Linked DNA regions of Homo sapiens: region 1 is linked to region 2. The links are contacts of gene promoters, found by promoter capture Hi-C in human tissues and cell types (Jung and others, 2019). All regions are on one chromosome and are shown on one strand. The core of a region is centred on a gene start or on the middle of the fragment in contact, and the rest is flanking DNA. Distances in the headings are between cores, read along the strand shown.

Region 1 (5,353 bases), core at 2,342-4,841, 700 kb after region 2:
ACTCTGAGATCCAGCCTTCATAGGGGCTACTGTTACCTTACTCACTTATTTTAATTCTGTAATGTCTATCCAACTGGACAGAGTCACTAGTAATAATGTCCTTCAGTGGATCACTGCTGTCCATTCCCAACTTTTGCATAAAACGAAGACCCAAAGGAGAAGAAAGTGGTCAGAGAGAGTCTGATTAGGGTCGCTGCTTTCCTTGTCCTTCCTTTTCTGCACTCCTGTGGAACTTGGCCCCCTGGTTTTCTGCAGTGGAGAAGATGAGGCTGCAGATGAAAACCCAGAGTCTCAAGAGATGCTGGAGGAGCAACTGGTGAGGATGTTAACCCGAGAAGTCATGGACCTAATCAGTAAGTGGCATGTCGAAACTGGGGCTATAGAGGATTTTCCTGGAAGAAGAGCTGGTCGCTCAGCCAACTCCATGAAGGCCTGACTAATGCAAAGGATTCATGTTTGCGGCGGGCATGGTGGATTGCGAGGTCAAAAGATCAAGACCATCCTGGCCAACATGGTGAAACCCTGTCTCTACTAATAATACAAAAATTAGCTGGGCGTAGTGGCGCGCAGGCCTGTAGTCCCAGCTACTCAGGAGGCTGAGGTAGGAGAATCGCTTGAACCCGGGAGGCGGAGGCTGCAGTGAGCCGAAATCACGCCACTGCACTCCAGCCTGGCAAAAGAGTGAAACTCCGTCTCAAAAAAAAAGTTCATGTTTGTAGCAACACTGACAGATCCAAAAGAAATAACTAGATAGAAGCAAGGCAGTCCTTAAGTCAACCTAAGGATACTTTATGAATTGCAAGCTGAATATGGGGAAACAAAAATAGCAGAAGGAATTTGGATTCATTAGGAATAACTTCCTAGTTTTGTCAAAATAGGGAAATGTTTTAAATTCTTGGACATGGAGGCTGTTAATTTTCTTTTTATTTTTACTGTGTCATTTTGTTTGTTTGAGATTCAAAGTAGACCAGGGATGTATCAAGCATCCTTTCCTAGTCACTCACTCTCAGAGAATTCTGTAATTTTCTCTCAGCTAGTTGAACTTGAAGGACCAAAACAGTTCGGTCATCAGAATGCCTCTATTTCTATTGGTGAAGCTAATTCTTGTGCCTTGGACGGTACCCCCATCTTCCTCCTTCCTCACCTGGCCAGAGACAGGTTGGGATCAGTGGGCCTGAGGTGGCTGTTGTGGTAGTATATACCCACCCTTCACCTAGTAACCCTGCTTTCTTGCTTTAGCGGTTTGCTGTGTTTCAAAGAAGGGTGCTGACCACAGTAGTGCTCCCCCAGCAGATGGAGACGGTAAGTGAGCCTGTGAGACCTTGGAGTTCTGCTCTTAGCCTCCTAAATACTGTTCCTTCTGAACCAGGTCAGTTTCCTTGCAGTCTGGTGAGGAGAAGACACCCTACATGTAGTTATCATCTCTGGACCAGCCCTCTTGCTGTGTGCCTCCATCATACTCCCACCTCCAAGCCTTTGCACTTGCTGTTTCCTCTGTCTCAGATGATTTCCTCCCAACCATATATGTGATCTTTTCTCTTGCTTTATTCCAATGTCACCTCTTCCCAGAGATCGTCCATGACCAACCTATCAAAAATGGCAACCCCAGCTACTCTGTATTCCTCTGCTTTATTCTTCTTCATAGCAGTTGTCACTACCCAACATTATGTTTTTATTTATGTATTCCTTTCTTACCTATCTCCCATGTTAGAATGTAAACTCCCATCAGGGAAGGGACCTATTGTCCTATACCTTTTATCCCCAGTAACTAAATCAGTGTCTGGTGCTCAAATATTTGTCCAACAACAAAGTAACTTCAGTATTTGCAGCATTTTGTGTTTCTGCCTAGAAGCTCCCATTTCCCTCATGTACAGCTTGAGTGCATCTCTAGAAGATCAGCCATGGGCATGGGCATTATGTGGAGGTGGGAGGGCTCCTAGTACTACTTAGCCACCACTTAGCCTAGAACACTCAGCTTTGCTTTGTTTTTTGCGCTTCTGTCAGAACAAGATATTCTTCTCTGTTCTGAAAGGATGGAGCTTAACATTCTACTCTCTGATAACAGATGAAGAAATGATGGCCACAGAGGTCACCCCCTCAGCTATGGCAGAGCTTACAGACCTGGGCAAATGTCTGATGAAGCATGAGGTGGGTAGAAGGAGCAGGTGATACCTTTACTCCTTGCCCAGGTGGGGAGTCACCTTTTACTTTTCTTGCTCTATGGTGCTATCAAGAGTTTTTTGTAATACTCCTTTGTTACATAAGTTCCTGGTTCCAAAGGCCCCAGAAAAAACCGAGGGAAAAGGTGCAATGCCATGGTGTCTCCCATACCAGCATAGGCAGGAGCTCTCAGGAAAACACATAGTAGGCACACTGATGCAGATCCCTGGTGTTTAGCCTCCCCAAGCCAGGCCTGAGCTTTGTCTCCATCCTACACATACAGGTTTTCTCACATTTTGATTTTTTCTTTTTGACTGGCAATACACAAAAATAGAGGAAGTAAACTCCTTTTATTTTTCCTGCTTAGCTATTTAAAACTCCAGCTCCTAAGCCAGGCATGGTGGCACACACCTGTAGTCCCAGCTATTCGGGAGGCTTAGATGGGAGAATAGCTTGAGCCCAGGAGTTCAGGACCAGCCTGGGCAACAAAACAAACCCATCTTTAGAGGGGGGGAGGAAAAAAAAAAAACCCTCCGGCTCCTGATGTGTAATAATCATCAGAGAAAACTGTGCTTCTTTTTCCATTGTAACTCTTCATCTTTTCCTGTTCAGGATGTTTGTACAGCGCTATTAATTACAGCCTTCAATTCCCTGGCCTGGAAAGATACTCTGTCCTGCCAGAGGACAACCTCACAGCTCTGCTGGCCTCTCCTCAAACAAGTATGGTTATTCACCCCTTTTCCCTGCCCCTCATGGAAGGTTTGGGTCATGCAGACTGACTAAATCATTCAGAAGAACTGGGGTGCTGAGGCCTTGAGAGAGGCCCCCTGTGGCCCTAAAGCACAGTTGTCTCCCCAGGTGCTGTCAGGGACACTGCTCGCAGATGCAGTTACGTGGCTTTTCACCAGTGTGCTGAAAGGCTTACAGATGCACGGGCAGCACGACGGGTGCATGGCTTCCCTGGTCCATCTGGCCTTCCAGATATACGAGGCACTGGTGAGTGGGGAAGGCATGGGGGAAGGATGGCTGCAGCTTCATCACTCAGTCTGCTCCTAGTCTCTTGGGCCTTATCCTAAATTCAGGCACCTGCCAAATTGCTGGTGCAATCTCTGAGAAATGGGTGTGGCAGGAAATGGGGAGGGTGGCAATATCCAAACCTACATCCAGTAAGTTTATCCCTGCTGATATCAGCGCCCCAGGTACCTGGAGATAAGAGCTGTAATGGAGCAAATCCCTGAAATACAGAAGGACTCACTGGACCAGTTTGACTGCAAGCTTTTAAACCCCTCCCTGCAGAAAGTGGCTGACAAGCGCCGAAAGGACCAATTCAAACGCCTCATTGCTGGTTGCATTGGGGTAGGTCATGCACCTTCAATAGTGCTCCCAACCCCCTTCTTAAATCATGTGTATGGGCAAACCATAAACCAGCTGTAGTTATTGACCATTATGGTGAGATTTTTTTTTTTTTTTTTTTGAGATGGGGTTTCACTCTTGTTGCCCAGGCTGGAGTGCAGTGGTACGATCTCAGCTCACCACAACCTCCGCCTCCCAGGTTCAAACGATTCTCCTGCCTCAGCCTCCCAAGTAGCTGGGATTACAGGCATGCACCACCACGTCTGGCTACTTTTTGTATTTTTAGTAGAGACGGGGTTTCTCCATGTCGGTCAGGCTGGTCTTGAACTCCTGACCTCAGGTGATCCACCCGCCTTGGCCTCCCAAAAGTGTTGGGATTACAGGCGCGAGCCACTGCGCCGGGCCAAGAGAATCTTTTAACTACTACTGAGGGCCCAGCATTAATTCTTTCTCATTTGTTTTCCACAGAAACCCTTGGGAGAGCAGTTCCGAAAAGAAGTTCACATTAAGAATCTTCCCTCACTTTTCAAAAAAACAAAGCCAATGCTGGAGACGGAGGTGCTGGACAATGATGGGGGTGGCCTGGCCACCATCTTTGAACCCTGAATCAAGCTTTTGGGCATCCTTCCTCGGCCTTTCTTGTCATCTCTTCTTTCCCTTTGTAGCCGATCTCTAGGCCCTTCTTGCACTGCCACCTCACTTTCCACCACTGTCAGCCTGGAAAGAGATCCAGGTCTGGAGCTGGAGAGAACAGGCCCTGTGCAGGACCAGAAGTAATTATACTAAAGTATCAAGAAAGGGAGTTAGGGCTTAAACTATTCTGTCTAGATGTCCCAGATAGTTCCCATTCTACTTGGAGATTTGGCTTTTCCAAGAAAAGCTAGAGCAGAGCAGCCCTTCTCCCACAAGCCCTCCCACCCCCGTGCAGCCACATACCTGTACAGAATGGTAACTAAGGGTGCTGTGCCCAACCCTGCGACTAGCAAGGCTCGCAGCAAGAGCACAGCCCTCAACTACTTGTGCCAGAGTTTCTCTTGGACCACTCCAACTCCCACTGAGCCCTTTTGCTGCTGGGCTGGCAGGAAACTTTCCCCACTCCCTAAGGGGCATGTCTGGGTTAGGTGCTAAGTGCTGAAGAGAACTTGGTCAGTTCTCTCAACTTTGCTTTGGGCAAGAATCTGGTCACCTGATGGGATCCATGGTACAGGCTACTGCTAAACTTGGCACAGTATCAAGTATAGTACCTCCAAGGACCAGGGCTGGGAAGTCTTTAGTGCTAACATCCCCTTTAGAGTTCACACATCTTGCCCTTCCATGAATGACCCCTCAGTCTGGCCTCCCCAGCCTCAAGGTCCACTCAGGCACAAGAGCCACAGTACCCTAGATAGTGTCACATGACACCGTTGTCATCCAAGGATAATACAGACCAACTAGGCTACATCTGTGATGAGCAGCTAGCAAAGCCGCTGGTCTTCTCCTAGGACTAAGTCCAGGTGCCTTCCACAATCTCATGGTCTTTCAGGTCCCTGGTTACTTTTCTCAAAGGCCATTTCCAAAAGAATACATGCCTTCACATCACAACCTGTACTGTGAGTCCATTCTAGAGGTCACTGAAAGGCCCTGTAAAGAGAGGACATGGATACGGGACCTGGCCCTGAGGTTATTACTGGCCGTAAGGCAGAGTTAATCCATACAGAAACCAGTGTGTCCATGTGCTCTGCACAAAAACAGACCTGTTGTCCATCCAGTCCACTGACAAGAGGGTTTCCCCGAGAGCCGAAGTGGACTGAAGCTACAGTTTTTAGCTGGTGCGGGCCACAGGCAGGGTCAGATTGAGAAG
Region 2 (5,235 bases), core at 1-2,500:
GATACCAGCTCAGAGCATCTGGTGTCCCTCCAACTATGCCTTGGCCTGCTGAGGTGGGCCCCTGAAAGTAGCCACCAAATTGAGTACCTCCCTGCCTCCAGACTCCCAACACCTCTCCTGCAATTCTCCACTCCCAGGATTTCATATGGGGCTAGCCACTACCTGCAGATCTCTTGTCTTTTCTTCACAACCACCCATAAGCTAGTACTAGCACTGAATAGATGGGGCCAGCTGAGGTTCAGAGGGGTTGAGTCACTTGCCTGAAGTCACAGAGCTGGTGAGTGGAGGAGCTAGAATCCATATTAAATGTTCAAGCTCCTTTTGGAATGGAGAGAGGTATAAAAGCTGCTTCTCAGTTAGCCCTGTAGACTGGGAGGTGGGGGGAACTCTGATTCAACTAAAGGGAAAAATGAGGTGGAGACCAAGATCATTCCCAGCCTGACTTGAGTGTCAGGCAGCTCAGCCCCGCCCCATCACACACATCCTGGCATGGGGAGCTTACACAAGCAGGAGGAAAGTTGGAGGGTCTGGAGGCCACCGAGAGGAGTAGGCAAAGGGACTACCACAGGGCTGCAGAGAGACCCCTAGAGGTGTGAGGGCAGGGTTGGAGCCAGCCTTGACCTACGACTGCTCTCTCCTGGTAAGCAAAGCCGAGGACTGTTTGTCTTCACCCTCTCATATACCCTCACAGTAAATCAGTAAATGAAGACGTGCGCAGGAAGGAGACGCCAGGGATACGAGTTTAGCCAGTAAAAGACCGGGGTTAAAGAGACAGCCCCGCACCTCCGCTCGCGAGCCTGCACCTCCGCTCGCGAGCCTCCATCCCCATCCCCATCCCCATACCCCTCCGCCAGCGCAGTCAGCGGCACGGCCCCTCCCTGATACCGACCAGATCGATGGGGATCACCCGTCCACTCGCCTGCCCCTTGCGGAGGTCAACGTGACCGCAGCCTGTTTTAGGCCCGGGAGCCAGGCCGCCCCGCCCAGCTTGGGTCCCGGTCCCCGCAGGGTCCTCAGGCTCCCTGGCCCGTGCGCGCCACGTGCTGCGCGGCTCCGCACGCTCCGCACTGGGGCCCCACCCGGCGTCCCTTCTCCGGGCTGCGGAGCCGTCAGGCCCGCCCTCCCTGCCCTCCGTGGCAGGCGGGCAGCGGCGTCTTCCGCCCCGGCAGTCCCCAGTCCCCAGTCCCCGGCCCCGGGCAGCACCTGCCGCAGAAGCACTGCTCCCGCGCTGAGATCCGCGCGCTCTCGCTGCAGCTTCCCTCTCCCGCCGGGGCACATTCAAACCCGCCCTCCGCTGAGCTCGCCCCGCCCTGCGCCCACTGCCACCTCCCCGACGCCCGCGGCCCCGCCCCCGGCCCACCCCTGCCACCCCGCGGCGACTCCGCGCGCTCCGCCGCTCCCACCCCGAGCCCCTGCGCCCCCAGGGCCGCCTGGTCGTGTTATTGCGGTAGATAGGACCTCTTTGGGCCCTGCCACACCAAGGCTGTCTGTCCATCGTGTGGGGTACATGGGGCTGGAGGGTACAGCCACACATTAAGGACCTGCGCAGACTCCCATAAAATTCATCTCGGGACTGTTCCATTTACACACCCGCTGCTCAGACCGGCCCCGACGCTCCACGGCCCACTCCACCTCAGATATTCCGTTATCCCTTCCCAAGCCCTGCCCACGCCGCGCTTCCTCCACACTGCACCTTTTTCCTCCCAGCGCCCTCCCTTTCAGCGCCCCCTTCTTTCTTTCAGTCCCCCTCCTCTTCTTTTCCTTCAAAACTGCTTCTGTCCCCACCGCGCATTTTCTGTGACCAGCATGATGGGTTTTCCCATCCCTGACACATCCAGTCCCAGCCACAGACGCGCAAACACCACCCCACTCACAACTTTGACTTGGAGGGGGTATGTGCCTCTGCCTGTGCTTGCGTGTGCGCGCGGAGGGGGGTGGGGCAAAGCCCTCCAGCTCCCTCATAATTCACCCTTTCTAAATCCAGCACTTTGGAAAACTGAGGCACAGGTGGGAATGGGAAGAGAAAAAGCTAGGAACAGCCTTATATCCTCAGTGAATCCTATTGTCCCAGCCATCCTGACAGGCGGAAGCCTTGCTGAGTATGTCTTTCACTAGCTAAGGAGGAAGGTGTGGGCGTGCTGAGGGGTGGTCCAGCAAGTCCCTCCAAGGGAGGGGGAGGGAGGCCCTCTCTTTGGTCGGGCAATAAATGGGGTGGGGTGGGGGGCACTCCCTGCCCTTCCAGCAGTACTCAGTGCTAGAGGATGATCCTAAGGCTGGAAAGGTCCTGAGGAGAAAATCCAACCCACGCTGCCCACCCCATGCCCACTGACCCGAAGGGCTTGTCCCCTAGAGAAGCCACAGACACTGATTAACAACTGGCAGTACCTCACATCATAGGGATAAGGTAGTCCTACCCTGTCCCCAGAGAAACAGACAGGGCCCTAAGGAGAGAGGTGGCTTTTCTAATTAGGGTCAGTGGCTCTCCCCAAGCTACTCCAGAATGGGTGTCCCCAGCCTTCTGTTTCCATGCCCCACAGAGATGACACACATATTCCTTCCCAACCCTCCCCCACCCCACCCCCATCCCCCACATCCCCGCCAGCCCTAACCAGAGGGCAGGAAGATGGGTTTAGGTGGTATTTTTCCAGGCACAGCCCCATGACTTGAGAGTGGCTTCATGTCTGTCCACAACCCCCTAATTCCTGCCCTCATGTTTGTCCAGTCTCTCTCTCTTCCTCTCCTAGCCCTCCTCTGCCCTCTGCCTTGGCCCCCTTCCTCGCTCCCCACCCTCCTTTCCTGGTCTCTGGGTCTGTGGGGGTGGCAGGGCTAGTGGTCAGAAGATCTGCCAGGCATGGCAAGGCTGGTGGCCAGTGGCTGCAGTTGTGTACAGAGGGGGCTGGAGGTGGAAGAAAACTGGAGGGAAGTGGTGAGGGTCTCAGGCCAGACTGGGAAAGGCTGGTTCCTCTCCCCACCCAAACTGGGGCCCTGCCAGCTCGGTGGATGGCAACAGCCAGGGCTGTTATTGTTGGAGAGAAGTCCGTCTGGCATCCATCCTGCTGGGCCCCTAGCCAACACCCACACCCCTCTGTAGCCACCTCCCAAGCAGAGGTTGCTGGGTGCCAGGGCCCCCTGCTGGACAGCCTGGGAGCCCCAACTTACACAGGCCTTGCCTGGAGTTTTTCTAGCCAGGCCTTGCCAGCTCTCTTCAGTCTCTGCCTGGTCTTCTGGCTTCTCTCCCTCCCTGAGCTCCCTCAGGTCCCTGTCGAAGGGGTGGGGTGGGAAGGGTTGGTCCTGCTGCACCTCTACTCTACACCTTATTCACCACCCTATATGGGACCGTGGCTTGGCCCAGACTCCCTCCCCAACTTGGCAGGCCCCATGCATGCCTCACCACCTCACACACAGTCCTCTCTCTCCCCAGGCATGTGTCCTCTCAGCTGTCACCAACAAGTCATGTGTGTTTGCTGGAAGTGTGTTTGCTTGGCCTGGGGGTTGGTAACCAGCACATGTCTCATGACTGTCTGTGTTCTCAGTTGTGTTTGTGACTGTATCTCCATGGCCTTGTGACAGGGCTGGGACTAGGGAGAGGCCAGTGAGGCACTTGCCAGGGGTGTAAAATGTAAGGGGGAGCCAAAAAACTCATGAATCAAGATAAATTTTAGGCCAGGAGTGGTGGCTCATGCCTGAAATCTCAGCACTTTTGGAGGCCGAGGTGGGAGGATCACTTGAGCCCAGGAATTCAAGACTAGCCTGGGCAACACAGTGAGACCCCATCTCTACAAAAAAAATTAAAATAAATTAGCCAGGCATGGTGGCTCGAGCCTGTGGTTCCAGGTACTCCAGAGGCTGAGGCCGGAGGTTCACTAGAGCCCGGGAGGACAAGGCTTCAGTGAGCCATCATCCTGCCATTGCACTCCAGCCTGGGCAACAGAGCAAGACCTTGTCTGAAAACACAAACAAACAAACAAAGATACATTTTAATGTAATCAAAATAAGTTTGTTTTTTTTTTTCTTTTCTTTAAGATGGAGTCTCACTCTGTCACCCAGGCTGGAGTGCAGTGGCGTGATCTTGGCTCACTGCAACCTCCACCTCCTGGGTTCAAGCGAGTCTCCTGCCTTAGCCTCCTGAGTAGCTGGGATTACGGGCACGTGCCACCACGCCCAGCTAATTTTTGTATTTTTTTTTTTTTTTTTAGTAGAGACGGGGTTTCACCACGTTGGTCAGGCTGGTCTCGAACTCCTGACCTTGTGATCCGCCCGCCTTGGCCTCCCAAAGCACTGGGATGACAGGCGTGAGCCACCACACCCAGCCCTTACCAAAATAAGTTTTAATGCAATGTCTACAAATCAAGACTCCATGATGCCAAGTGCAGTGGCTCACATCTGTCATCCCAGCACTTTGGGAGGCCAAGGTAGAAGAATCACTTGAGCTTAGGAGTTCAAGACCAGCCTGGTCAACACAGGGAGACTCTGTCTCTTAAAAAAAAAAAAAAAAAAAAATTAGCTGAGCATGTTGACGCATGCCTGTGGTCCTGGCATTTTGGGAGGCTGAGGTGGGAGGATGGCTTGAGTCCATGAGGTCGAGGCTGCAGTAGGCTGTGATCGCACCACTGCCCTCCAGCCTGAACAACAGAGCGAGACTCGGTTTTTGTTTTTTTTTAAAGACTCCATGATGAATAAAACATCAAGATTTTTTAAGTAAAGACAGGTGTGTTCACAGTGTGGGTACTGGCTCGGGGTTCGAGAAGACTAAATTCTTTGTTCAGTTAGGTCTGGGCTGGTCTTCTAGGCTAATTTTCCAGACCTCTTCCCCCTACCCTATGTTCCTGGGACATCTGTAAGTGGCTGGGGAGTTTGGGGAGGCAGTCATCTAATAATGGCCTTCGAAGGCCCAGAAAAGTGGCCCCGCATCCAGAAACCAAAGATTCTGACTCCCCTGAGACACTGTAGCCCAGCGGGTCCCCCTACTGGCCCCCTGTCCCGCCCGGCAGCGTGAGAACGGCGCAGACCTCGCCCCCACCCCACCCCGCCCCGCCAGGCCCCCCGGCCCCGCCCCGCGCACCTGCTGAGACTTTGGAGTGAGCATCCGGACTTGGTGGGGGACGGAAATTCCCAGGCCTGCGGGCCCCTAGTTCTCTCCCTCCTCATCTCGGGGCTGGGGCCATAGCCACAGCTGGAGAGCGCAGCCCGCGCCGGGCCTGACCGGTGTGGGCCGCCGGGCGGAAGAGAGGCTGC

The links. The method cuts DNA at HindIII sites, captures the fragments that hold promoters and counts their contacts. A contact is called where the count stands out against the background at its distance.
Region 1: a fragment that was not itself captured here is called in contact with the fragment with the promoter of SLC29A1 in region 2 in 1 of the 25 tissues and cell types used here (dorsolateral prefrontal cortex).

Annotation. Positions count from the first base shown.
Region 1 is chr6:43,522,634-43,527,986 of GRCh38, reverse strand. It overlaps XPO5 (exportin 5), which reads left to right. Exons shown (of 32, transcript NM_020750.3): 26 at 256-353; 27 at 1,240-1,302; 28 at 2,066-2,148; 29 at 2,773-2,880; 30 at 3,019-3,156; 31 at 3,352-3,516; 32 at 3,982-5,353. The coding sequence ends at 4,119. It also overlaps a transcript of POLR1C not described here. Among named protein-coding and RNA genes, the nearest start is that of POLR1C, 8.2 kb to the right of the region's middle. The HindIII fragment of the contact is 5,249 bases long and covers 967-5,353 here.
Region 2 is chr6:44,219,610-44,224,844 of GRCh38, reverse strand. It overlaps SLC29A1 (solute carrier family 29 member 1 (Augustine blood group)), which reads right to left and starts at 1,250. Exons shown (of 13, transcript NM_001372327.1): 1 at 1,204-1,250. RefSeq lists enhancers at 171-320, 563-1,421 and silencers at 1,011-1,410, 4,932-5,031. The HindIII fragment of the contact is 20,616 bases long and covers 1-5,235 here.